Regions from separate parts of the Homo sapiens genome. Here regions 1, 2 and 4 are each linked to region 3. The links are contacts of gene promoters, found by promoter capture Hi-C in blood cells and fetal thymus (Javierre and others, 2016). All regions are on one chromosome and are shown on one strand. The core of a region is centred on a gene start or on the middle of the fragment in contact, and the rest is flanking DNA. Distances in the headings are between cores, read along the strand shown. Region 1 overlaps THEMIS (thymocyte selection associated). Region 2 overlaps THEMIS (thymocyte selection associated). Region 3 holds the start of PTPRK-AS1 (PTPRK antisense RNA 1). Region 4 holds the start of LOC124900216 (a long non-coding RNA gene).

Region 1 (3,462 bases), core at 192-2,691, 150 kb after region 3:
CAAATCTGCAATATCTCTGAGATATGCCTAGATGTATTTCATTATCTAGCTGAAGTATTTTAAGTAAATTATAAGGGTATTATAATAATCTTAAAAATTTATTTCCACGTATGTCCAAGATGCTCTATTGTCACTCTGAGTGGAGGCAGATCTAGCCATAGTTAATTGCTTTCGTTTAGTTTTGTTTTCACACTATATCTTTAACTAACTCTTAAATCCATATGCTATTCTAAGTTGATTTATGTTGTCTCCTGACTTTCCTTTACCTGCTTAATATGCTACAATATTTGCAAACCTAACCAAACTTTGCAATTTACTAAGGAACTTTAAAATACTGCATATTTGTGGGTTTCACCATGGAGAATCTGGTTGAGAATTTTGGAAGATAACCCAAGAATCTGTATTTTAAAACTTTCCCCATTCTAAGACAGTCTGTATGCAAACAATTGTTGAAAAGGAATTAGACAGGACCATCTCTGTTTAAGGATGACCATTTGATGTAAGAAACAATATATCAAGAACTGAACTCTTTGCTTCCTTCCCTATTTTTCTGCATCAATGAATCTTAGTGCCCTATCATTCTCCTAATACCCCAGCACCTCAATCTGGAAGTCAGTTCGATCTTATTTTTTTCACTTGAAATTCACTAGTGCCAGTGCCTGCTGGTGGATCATTTTGATATTTGCAGCTGTCATCTTATTTAGACGCTTGTGCATGCCTGGTTCACTCTGTAACACATTTCATTGCCTGTAGTGTCTCTTGCCACTCTGTGACAACTGAGGAAAAATTTCTTACAATAACAATGCTATATTGCCTGCATTTCCAATATATTCTTCTTGAGTTTTCTCCAATCACTGAATTTTTATTTTGTAATCAGATCATGTAGGAAAACATTGGATGTCAGATAATCGGTTAACACATTAATTTGTTTAAATCTTAAAAGTGGTATTTTTACTTTCTGGAATGCCCTTTCTATCAATATTAATAACCAGACATCCAGACTGACCTCATTTAGCTATAATCACATGTCAACTATGTAGAGGATTATACTTCGATTTGTTTGTTGCTAACTTCATCGGCATGAGAGGACAATCAAGGTGACACATGACACATAGATGACCAAATTACCAAAGCTCTGAAACAGTCTACCAATGGCAAAACTGCAGCTCTCATTTTTGTTTTTAATCTTTTTATACCACTGTGCTGTTCAATACAGTAGTCACTAGTCCTATGTGGCTCTTTAAGTTTAAATTAAGTAAAAGTAAATGTATGTAAAACTTGAGTTCCTCCGTTACATTAGTTACATTTAAGTGCTCAAGAGCCTCACGTGGCTATTAGCTGCAGTATTGGGCAGCTCAGATTATATTTCCAACATTGCAGAAAGTTTTACTGGATAGTTCCACTGTGGAGTCCCTCTGGAAGTCTCAAGGTGGGAAGAGACTCACATTTCCAATATCAACAAACCTACTCGCCTTTCTCCCTGCTATGTTGACTTCCCTAATGGCTTTCTGCAGTTTGGGGGTTTCTACATTGTGTTGAGGCTTCTTCTACTACTTCACCTTGTATGCACATGCTTCTGTGTTTGACAAAGACTTTCTCTGTCACTGGTGTCAAAAGTTGCACACATACACACATTTATTTAAGTTAAACAAAATAAACTCTTTATTTTGAGATGAATGCAGATTCATATGCAGTTGTAAGAAATAATACAAAGAGATCCCATGTATCTTTTACTCCAGTGGTTCCCAAATTTTTGGGACCAGGGACTGGTTTCGTGAAAGACAATTTTTCCATTGATTGCAGGGGCAGAGGTTTTGGGGATGTTTCAAGTACACACTACATTTATCATCAGATTATTAGATTCTTATAAGGAGCACACAACCTAGATCCCCTGCATGCATGCACAGTTCACAATAGGGTTTCTGCTCCTAGGAGAATCTAATGCCCGCTGATCTGATGAAAGGTGAAGCTCAGCTTTGCTGGCTGTTCAGCTGCTCACCTCCTGCTGTGCGGCCAGCACCAGTCTGTGGCCCAGGGGTTGCAGACCCCTGCTTTACTCAACTTCCCTCAATGATAAGGTCTTACAAAACTGTAATACAATATTACAACCAGGATATTGACATTGTTACAGTCAAGAGACAAAATATTTATATCATCACATCACCCATGTTGCTTTTTTATAGCCATACCTTCTTCTTAACTCCTTTCAAATTTAAGTTCAGAATCCATTTTGAGTCAATATTTGTGTGTGTATAATGTGAAGTTTAGTACACTTGACTCTTGAACAAATGGTTTGAATTTTGTGGGTCCACTTATATGCAGATTTTTAAAAATAAATATATTGGAGATTTTTTTGGAGATTTGAAACAATTTGAAAAAACTCACAACGTAGCCTAGAAATATTTAAGATAAAAACTAAGAAAATTAGGTATGTCATGAATCCATACAATATATGTAGCTACTAATCTATTTTATCGTATACTACCATAAAATATACACAAATCTATTATAAAAAGTTAACATTTTTCAAAACTTGCACATGCCTTTACAGACTGTTTATGGTGCTAGTCACAGTTGAGAGAAAGGTAAACACATGTAACAGATGCAGTGTTAAATCACAACTACATAAAATTAACTATAGTAATATTGTTCTACCATAATAATTTTGTAGCCCTGTTCTGTTGCTATTGTGATGAGCTCAAGTGTTGGAAGCATCCAATTAAAACACCCTGTTACACTAATCATCTCCTTTTGAGTACTCATCCTCTCCTACAAATTGTGAATTGCAGTAAAAAGTGAGCTCATTCTCGTGTACAAACGTTCCATCATAGTGCTATACCGTAAACCTTGAAAACAGCATGAGACCTACAAAGTGCTACTAATGATGCTATTGGTATTCCCAAAAAGTAAACAAAAGTCATAACATTGCAAGAAAAAGTTGAATTCCTTGATATGTACCATAGATTGAGGTCTGCAGCCATGGCTGCCCACCATTTCAGACAGATCTTATAAACAAATGATGTAAACTTATGGTATCAATAAATGCAATACTATGAATGCATTTTCTATTCCTTATGATTTTCTTAGTGACATTTTCTTTTCGCTAGCTTATTTTATTGTAAAAATACGGTATGTAATACACATAACATACAAAATATGTGTTAATTGACTTTATGTTATTGGGAATGCTTCCAGTCAACAGTAGCCTATTAGTAGTTAAGTTTTGGGAAAGACAGATGCTGTAACATGGATTTTTGACTGCACAAGGCCAGTGCCCTTAACCCCTACATTGTTTAAGGGTAACCAGTACTAGGTTAATTATTTTAATTTTATGGATGTCCAATTTTTCCAGTACTTTGTTGTTGTTCTTTAAAAAGCTTGCTTTTGAATTGCTTTTGCAAATTTGTCAAAAATCAGATGGGCTTATTTCTGTGGCGCTGTTTTTGGGGGAGTACATTTTCT
Region 2 (3,143 bases), core at 403-2,902, 170 kb after region 3:
TGACTGTCACACGTTTTTAACTTTGTAGGGAAGATGGAAGAAAATCTATTGAACCAATTGTTTTGGCTGTTCTGATGTGATCACAGCATTGCTTATATGGATTGTCAAACAAGGGATGAGCTCATAAAAGGATATTAATGTGTCGTTTTTATTGAGCAAAGTAGCATTACAGAAAAGGTGATTTCAAAGGCACATGGCTCTTTCATTACAGCCTTCAGGGGCAATGTTTGATCACTGAAAACAGGCTGCTTTGTTCCAGCTTTCTCTGATGTTTGGCATTATTCTGAATACATATGCTTTGACTTGGATAGAATCAGTCTGTAAAGATTTAATAGATTCGAGATTTGCTTATTCAAAATACATGTTTTATGGTTAAAATGAAATGAAAGCCATTTTAATATGTATGTCTATATATACACAGATATATTTCAGACACATATCTCAGCAATTTTTTTAAAAGCAATTACACATATTATGTGTTTGTTTTGAGATAATGAAAGTTGGATATTTTTAAAATTCACCATTTTAACTTATCAAGAAGGAAAAAATATATTTTAAGACACATTATATTGGTGATAATAAAATACAAGATTTCCAGTTTTAGCGACTTAAGCTTTGCTATATGTCCCTGTCACCTATCATAGACATAACTTTCTAGCTTTCTAGTGCTGGACATCTCTGAACACTTTCTTTATTAAAAATGAGTTAACAGCTTTCTTGGTTGAAGAACATTGGAAGTCACGAAATATTAAAGAGAAATTACAAAAGATTATTATTTACATGATAGTCTTTTCCTTATGTGACTGAAAGAAGTGAGCTTTTTTCTTCCAAAAGGAAAGACTTGCTTGGAAAAAGACCTGAAGAGTCAAAAGCTTTTCTTGTGGTGACCAAGACTCATGAAATTTCTTTTTATAGAATTCTCTGGCTTCTATTCCATGTGAATTGATATGAAATCTCACATAAATTTATCTTTTTATTTTGAATTCCAATTGAACCTTTAAAAGAAAGATGACATTCCAACTCAGCCAATTTGATATACATTACATTTACAATTAGATAATCAGTGCACTGAAATTAAGCCCAACAGACTTCAGCTGAAATGGGCTACGTTAGATTATGTTCCATTTAATATGACAAAGAAAAATTTTACTATTTGCTTCTTTACTTAAAAGCCTTCCCTTTCCCTCTCTCCACTTATAACATCCTCTAACTCAATGATGCCCAGTGCTTTCTCTGCTTAACACATTTTCCCCTCTATGTTAGTTTTGCAACAATTTCAAACAGAGACTATATTGTTATCCATTTGTTGCCTAGGCCAATGTTTGCAAACCTTAATGTCCTTATAAATCATCTAGGGATCTTGTTAAAAACACAGGTTCTGATTCAGTAGGTCTGGGGTCTAAGATTCTAACAAGCTCTCAGGTGATGTGGTGGACCAAGGTTTGTATAGCAAACACTTAGAGTACAAATGACCTGTCCTTAAATGTGTTTTTGGACCATGATAACTGGAAATGTAGATTCTGTGACTTTGTGGTTGCTTCATACTTTAAATTGCTTTTTTATTTATTGATAATGAATCAATAATGAATGCTCTGAACCATCAGGACTCCCTCTACTTCCCTAGTCTCTGTTTTTACCACTTCCTCCTTCTTACTTACATTTTAGACATAACAAAGTACTTGAAGTTTCCAGAATGTATCAGGCTCTTTCACATCTCAGTGCCTTTTCAAATACTATTTCCTCTGCCTGTCCTGGTGTCCTGTGACTCTTCCTTTAAAACTCAAATCTGCAGTCATCTCCTCCAGGAATCCTTCTCTAATCTCTTTTTCATGTAATTGCATAATTAAATGCCTTCAGTATACTCCCACATTGCCCTGTATTTCCTTTATTACACCCTTCTCCTAATCTGTTGCAATTGTCTGCTTAATTGTTCTTTCCCTTCAAGACAATGCTTCTGGGGGGAATGAATAATGCATTTTATCTCTGATTCCTATTGCCAATCGCCAACATAGTAGGTTTTTTTTTTTAATCAAAGTTTGCTGAATGAATGAACAGGGGAAGTTGATGTGTTGTAGTCATACAAGAAAGTAATGCAATATTTCTTCTCATGAAGTTTAAAATTGAATTGGGAGTCATAAAAACTGAAACTCATAAAAAATTAAGTATAGGGTGAGATAATACTAAAGATATAAAATGTTAGTATGTGATTAATTGCCAAATGAGGATCATAGCAAATAACCATTCAGAGTCAATTGGGGGAAAAATGTCACTGTGGATTTATTAGTATTTTTAATACCTCAATTTGTTCCACAAAGGACTTGAGCCTGCTGATAACATTAAGCATTAAAGTTAACGAAAATATGAGCACATATGTAGTTAAGGGAATAGTATGAGACAAGGAGAGGGTTATGGAAATATGTACCGGAAGCTTGAGGAATGGATAGACTATCCTTAATATGTATTCTTTAGATGTATTCTTCTTGTCTGCAAAAATGCTTCTTGCTCAGATAAGGACAGTAATGTGGGTGTGCTGGATTTTCATACCCACTCTGCCTGGGAAGCTGACTTCTGTGGGGACATTAGTAGCTCGCTTGTCCTCTGGCTTCTGGCAGAATTTGGCTAATGGGATGCCTATGGAGAAGAGTGAGGTCAGGACATTTATTTTCTTTGGTTGCCTAGAACTGGCTGTGCCTCTTTTTAAAGATGGCCCCTATGATAAACTTCCTGAAATTATTCTAATTTGAGTGTGCCCTGTTACCTATTGGGACTCTGATATGACCTCAGAGTTGTTGTTTAGAGCTAGATTGGATACCAGGCTTACTAACTTTTCTGGCAACCATCAATACCATAAAAATGTTCTAGGTGCATGCTACATATCAGGAACAATTCTATGAGGAGGTGGTTCTACACAGAAAAATTCAGAAAACAAACAAGCAAACCTAAAACGCTGTGCTCATATACTTCACATGTAGTATGGCAAAGACAACGTAAATCATCTTGGAAGTCAGGAAAAACTGATATATATAAAAGCTCACAGCTCTATAATGTTTATTTATACTTGCCTTAAGTTAGTGTTGAATTGTAAAGCAATAATATGCCAGAGATATAGTTTTTGGGTTGTTTCCTTTTCACTGGGGGTAGAT
Region 3 (3,013 bases), core at 155-2,654:
TTACAATCATGGCAGAAGGTGAAGGGGAACCATGTATCACTTGGCAAGAGAGGGAGACAGGAGAGGGAAGGTCCACACTCTTTAAACAACCAGATCTCACAAGAACACTCATTACTGTGAGGATGGCACCAAGGCATTCGTGAGAGAGCCAACCCCCAAAACCAAAAACCTCCCACCAAGTCCCATCTCCAGCATTGGGGAATACATCTCAGCATGAGATTTGGAGGGCACAAACACCCAAACTGTATCAGTTGATCAAGAACTGACCATGGAAGATGGATAGTTGAAGTCACAAGCAGTCCAGCACAATTCTAACCTTACCATGAATCTGAATTCTTAGCTCACTAAAGATTTAGGAACAGAATTGGGGAGTAGAATTATGGTCATGTAAAAATAGAGTCCGTTTAACATCCTAACCTTAAATCAGAAACCATCAAAGCATCATATCAACAAAAAAATTGTTTTCACTTATGAAAAATATGAATATTAACACAATTTTGTTGCACACTTACTCTCTGCCATATGTCTTACACTAGGCATTGAGAAAATACTAAAAATACATAGGATATGTTCCATGCTCTCAAGAAGTTGTGAATTGTGAAAGAACCTGATAGTTGAAGTAATAATTTCATGCAGTGTGCCTAAACATGAAATAGAATTCCATACAAAGTGACATTTAAATAGGTAGAAAAACCAGAGACCATATCCACACTGGTAACAGCATGGGCAGAGGTTTGCAGTTAGACATGAAAGTTAATGCAGTGTTCAAGAATATACTGAGGAGTTAGTAAGAAATTAGGCTAAAATGTATGTTGATACAGATATGAGAAAGGGCTGTAAGACTCAAGATTCACTTTATCTTGAGGGCAGGGTGGCAGCTATCAACAGTGCTAAAGCACTTTCTCTTCCACTTTAAAAATTAAAACAGTGTGGTAACCTTAAAAGGTGTTCTGAAACAATATTCTAAGCAACTGTTATCACTTTTGCTTTTTCCTTTTTTTTATCAGGTGCTTACTTAAACATTTCTCATAATTGCAAAGATTGTGACTTGTAATTATTTGTAGTTACTATTTTACCATGAGCTTTACCCACATTTTTATGTGTTTTAATTTTAAGTGGCTAAATATTATTATAAATAGTGTGTGCAGTATAATTTATATTCGTCATTTTCATTTTCCCTGAAATCTTTGTAGGCTATTAAGAAGAACAATGATAGGATCATATTTAAGTTTTAGAAAAATGACACCTTAAAAGCTGCAGGTAGATTAGGATGAGTAGGACTTGGAGTCAGAAACTTCAATAAGGGAGTGGCTGCAATATAGACTAGGAAAGAGGTGATACCAACCTGTCAGTGTCCTCATCGGTAAAAGAAGATACAGCTGGGCACAGTGGCTTATGCCTGTAATCCCAGCACTCTGGGAGGCCAAGGTGGGCGGATCACTTGAGGCCAGGAGTACGCACCAACTTGGCCAACAGAGTGAAACCCCGTCTCTACTAAAAACAAAAATTAGTCAGGCACAGTGGCACACGCCTGTAGTCCCAGCTACTCGGGTGGCTGAGGTAGGAGAATTGCTTGAACCCAGGAGAAGGTTGCAGTAACCTGAGATGGCTCCACTGCACTCCAGACTCGGTGACAGAGCAAGACTCTGTCTCAAAGGAAAAAAAAAACATACAACAAGCCTCATAAGTGCTTGTGAAAGCTAATTGAAATAATATATTAAAAGAGTTTGGCATTTAGAAAGCTCTGAAACGATCATTCATTTAACAGAGGAAGCTATGAACATTTTTTTTTTAAAGGTCAGTTTGACTTTTAGGCACCTGATTTCCTGAAGGACTCTTTGAACTCTTTGAATGTGGGTACTGTTTTATGCATTTTCATGTGATAACTAAACAGCCTGATTTACATTCTTGCCCAATATACGTATTTCTTCAAATAATGAACTAATGAATTCCCGGGCAATAAATACCTTTTGGTTAAATGGACAAACAGTTCTGTTCAGTGGGAAACATGCTAGTAGAGTCTGCTTTTAAAGGAATTGCTGTATGCAGTATTCTAAGAAATAATGAGGAAGTATTTTTACTTCAAAATACTTTGATCATAATATGATGATAGGTATTTTCTTCTCTTGCCTGTGAAAGTGTGTGTTAGGTATGTACATTATGGGGCCAAACTAGTGATTGTTGCTAATTAGGATATATGTGGCGCATTCTATCAAGAATCCCAGTTTTCTGGGCACTGTGAGCTGTAAGTCAAGTCATAAAAAGGAGTGAATTGTCTTTTTCATATATAGCACTGAAATTGACTGGAGTTAATTATTTAATGCCTACCTCCCCTACTAGACTACAGGCTGTGTCACACACCTCCCTCAGCATCTAGCACAGCAAATGGATTTAGTAATATTTATTGAATAGATTAAGAAATACAGAGTGAATAAAATAGGACACTGGTTGGAGTGTTGGGTCAACCACAATTTTGGTGTGATATATTCTACATATCACAGTGAGAAGGAAAATGATATAAAATGAATAATATCCTCCTTAAAGTACTATACAAAAAGAATACTTCTTATATTTTTTCAAGATGATGTAATCTTGTCAAATATATAATATGTTGCATGCCAGTGCTTTCTTAATCCTTAATAGTAATACCAGTAATTGTATATTAAGTTCCTGCTATGTGTCAAATACTTCTAGGTACTTTAAATGTATATTCAGTAATCTTCAGAACAAGCCTAGAGAGCAGAATTTAGTTATTTCATTGTAAAGATGAGAAAAGTGGGTCTCAAAAAAAGCAGATAACTTGTCCCAGATCACACAGTAGTTTTTCTTGGTACCTGGAGTGATTTTCATCCCTCTTTCAAATACAACCCTTTGGCTATTGGGAAGTAGCTATTACAACTGTATTTTTTCTTTAACTTGATGTAAGGGAAAGACCACTTTACACATATACAAATAGGAGAAAGTTTTGCCAGACCTTCTGCAGCTAGTATTTACATGAGTGAGTAGAGAATTG
Region 4 (3,007 bases), core at 195-2,694, 160 kb before region 3:
TGAGCCATCTGGAATGAAAACAAATATTGCACATATGAGGCAACTCAGTTTATTCACAAAATACAGACTGCTTCTTAAAATATGTGCAGCATTTAGGTAATCTCGGAAGACATTTACATTTTTTCTATTATGTTCACTTCTCGATTCAGTTTCATTTTAGTTTAGGGTTTGAGAATATATCAACTTTCTCCCTCTCTACAAAAACTTTTTAAAACTCTGAGTACAAAAGTTGTTAGAGCAGTTGGTAAAATTTCATGGTATGAAATGTCTAGCTCTGTCTTTCATAGTTGATAAGTGAAAATTCTAAACTGTGTTTATTTTATTCAAACTTTTTTCTTTTGTGAATAACTTCTCCGTTGAATTCAGTCGTGAAATTGGAAAGAGTTCACTTACTATGCAATTTTGACTACATATTGTTGAAACAATTTGCAAACTATCAGGAATGGATGTTGTAGTTAAAGTTTGTAAATCATATGTTAACCACTTTTCTATAGAAATTATAAATGTTTGCACTTCATATAGCATATGTTATCATCTTTGATCTTAGTTTTGTTTTTGTTTTAAACATGAGCCCAGTGAATCCCAAGGTCATGTGGTTCTACAAATAATTAGTTTAAAAGTTACTGCCATAATGAGCCATGAATACTTGTGAGGAGTTACTTATGTCCTTCAAGTGATTTTGGACAAAAAATATTGATATTACATTCATTATTTATCAGTCTTCTTTTTGTTTCCTATATAAATTTCAGTTTAAAATAATGAATTCATTGATTTCTTTTTACTATGTCTCCCCTACAATGTTATATGGATACCCAATGTGTAGGACAGCCTAACAATTAATAGCTACTCAATTAATATTTATCATATGAATTTTGAAAGAATCTTCTTGAAAATTACTTTAGCCTGTGTAGCTGTACAGACCAGATAATCTTATTCCTAATTTTAAGGTTATTTGTAATTCAGAGGCTTTTAAGCTAGAAACTATACTTTTATACAATCAGGGTTAAAAAGAAAATCCTGGTCTGCACCTGAACATTCTTGTTTCATTTAAACCTGCATAAGAAGGTAAAACCTGTCTACAGGCCTTATTTGCATTGTATATTTTTCATGCAATGCATTGCCATTGAAACAAAAAATCCAACTAGAAAGATATTGATTATGTGCTCATGACTTCCCTCTATTTGTACCTTCTTCAGTCCACCCCGTACCTGTAGTGGGTTGGACTGAGGGAGCATTTTGTGGTTGTGTTTTAATAGTTTATGTGATTTGCTCCAACTCTTAAAAAAAGTTTTAAATTAATTTTTGAGCAATTACTACTTTATTAACACTTTCTTTAGGTCTTTTGACTTTCCTGAGAAAAGTGAGAAGTGTTCCAGGAATTCAAAGAACTTTATGAGTTATTATCCCTTGTGGAAAGACCATATGAACAGAGCTATAGCTGTTGAGTCCTTCATAAAGTTCGGTGTCTCATTTCAGTCACATTGTTCTAATGAAAGAAAAAAAAAGTGCCTTAATATATCATTCAACTTTTCTGTAAGTACAAATGTTGAAATAATGTTTTCCAAAGTTTCTTTCAAGCAGAATATCTTAAGATATCCAAAATTAAATTATAGTGTGCCTTTGATATTTGAGTTTAATAGTTGGTGAATTGCCTTATCTTATGCTGCTCCCAAAGACCAGTGATGTTTAGTGATTTGTGATTGTGCCTAGGTGTAAATTTAAATTTGTCACACTGTGAGGCAGATTTGTAGAAACAAGTTAGCACCTGGCATCACTTTCTGAGTTCGGTTATGTTATTCTTTCTTCCTTTACTCATCTGTAGAAACTGTGAAGAAGTAACAAGGAAAGCAAAAAGAAAAATACCTCTTGGGCATAGTTTGTGAATGAAATAAATTGTCAAAGATCAACTCTACTCTCTTAGTAGCTAATTAGAGCTATCCATATCTAAATATTTTCTTTTTATTTCCTTTGTATACTGTGACTTTACAAGTTGATCTCCTGAAAAAAAATGTGTTTTTAATACAGGAAAATTATGTTAAAATAGTCATATGCACTTGCAAAATTATATGTTCTTTAAAAGTACAGTTGTCAGATCATGCGTCTTCTAGTTTTCTTTCAAGTATTTATTATGCATTTCTAATAAATGATCCATTAAGCATTTAGGCCTTATTAGACACTAATATATCTTTGTATTATTTTAAATCTTACTAATTGAAGTGCACACTCATCTCTCCTAGAACCGCCAAGACCCATTGCTCCTCCTCAGCTTCTTGGTGTTGGGCCTACATATTTGCTGATCCAACTAAATGCCAACTCGATCATTGGCGATGGTCCTATCATCCTGAAAGAAGTAGAGTACCGAATGACATCAGGATCCTGGACAGAAACCCATGCAGTCAATGCTCCAACTTACAAATTATGGCATTTAGATCCAGATACCGAATATGAGATCCGAGTTCTACTTACAAGACCTGGTGAAGGTGGAACGGGGCTCCCAGGACCTCCACTAATCACCAGAACAAAATGTGCAGGTAAGACTGAGTAGCAGACCTTTTCTACCTTGTGAAGGAATCTAGCATAAGACACATTAATACATGCAGTGTTGAAGGTTCTCATTATTTGATATATGATATAGTCACACTATTAAGAGTTCCAATGAATTACATAAATCATCACCTTGATTATGTCATAATTTGACTGATTTGAGGACATGGGAGTGCTTCTCTATTCTCAAGCCATTATTATTATGAATCTAGAGTCCTTTTTTGGCATGGTAGTTTTGGTGAGCCTGCTACATATTCAGTCCAAAAATCTCTGATAGCTGTAATTGAAAGCATTATTGAGAGAAAAGATCATTTTAGTTCAAGCAAATACCGAATACTTTTTTACTACGTGGAAATTCTCTCCCTCAGTAATTTTGTTACAGTCAGTGTAAAGGCCACATCTTATAATATGGATAAGAAAAGTTACTCTGGACAATGCCTCGTTGAGATAACTATTTTCTTCA

The links. The method cuts DNA at HindIII sites, captures the fragments that hold promoters and counts their contacts. A CHiCAGO score of 5 or more calls a contact.
Region 1: a contact is called between a fragment that was not itself captured here and the fragment with the promoter of PTPRK-AS1 in region 3, in 2 of 17 cell types (total CD8 T cells and naive CD8 T cells). The highest score is 6.1, in total CD8 T cells.
Region 2: a fragment that was not itself captured here is called in contact with the fragment with the promoter of PTPRK-AS1 in region 3 in 6 of 17 cell types (naive CD8 T cells, total CD8 T cells, non-activated CD4 T cells and 3 more); the score reaches 10.2 in naive CD8 T cells.
Region 4: a contact is called between a fragment that was not itself captured here and the fragment with the promoter of PTPRK-AS1 in region 3, in 1 of 17 cell types (naive CD8 T cells). The highest score is 5.1, in naive CD8 T cells.

What each region holds. Positions count from the first base shown.
Region 1 is chr6:127,873,460-127,876,921 of GRCh38, reverse strand. The region is part of intron 1 of THEMIS (thymocyte selection associated); the gene reads left to right. Among named protein-coding and RNA genes, the nearest start is that of THEMIS, 26 kb to the left of the region's middle. The HindIII fragment of the contact is 3,876 bases long and covers 1-3,379 here.
Region 2 is chr6:127,855,959-127,859,101 of GRCh38, reverse strand. The region is part of intron 1 of THEMIS (thymocyte selection associated); the gene reads left to right. Among named protein-coding and RNA genes, the nearest start is that of THEMIS, 44 kb to the left of the region's middle. The HindIII fragment of the contact is 1,556 bases long and covers 875-2,430 here.
Region 3 is chr6:128,026,256-128,029,268 of GRCh38, reverse strand. It overlaps PTPRK-AS1 (PTPRK antisense RNA 1), which reads right to left and starts at 1,404. Exons shown (of 5, transcript NR_125849.1): 1 at 1,346-1,404. All of the region lies in intron 13 of PTPRK (protein tyrosine phosphatase receptor type K), which reads left to right. The HindIII fragment of the contact is 8,791 bases long and covers 1-3,013 here.
Region 4 is chr6:128,183,956-128,186,962 of GRCh38, reverse strand. PTPRK (protein tyrosine phosphatase receptor type K) reads left to right here. Exons shown (of 30, transcript NM_002844.4): 7 at 2,238-2,531. LOC124900216 (a long non-coding RNA gene) reads left to right here and starts at 2,538. Exons shown (of 2, transcript XR_007059752.1): 1 at 2,538-3,007. The HindIII fragment of the contact is 7,214 bases long and covers 1-3,007 here.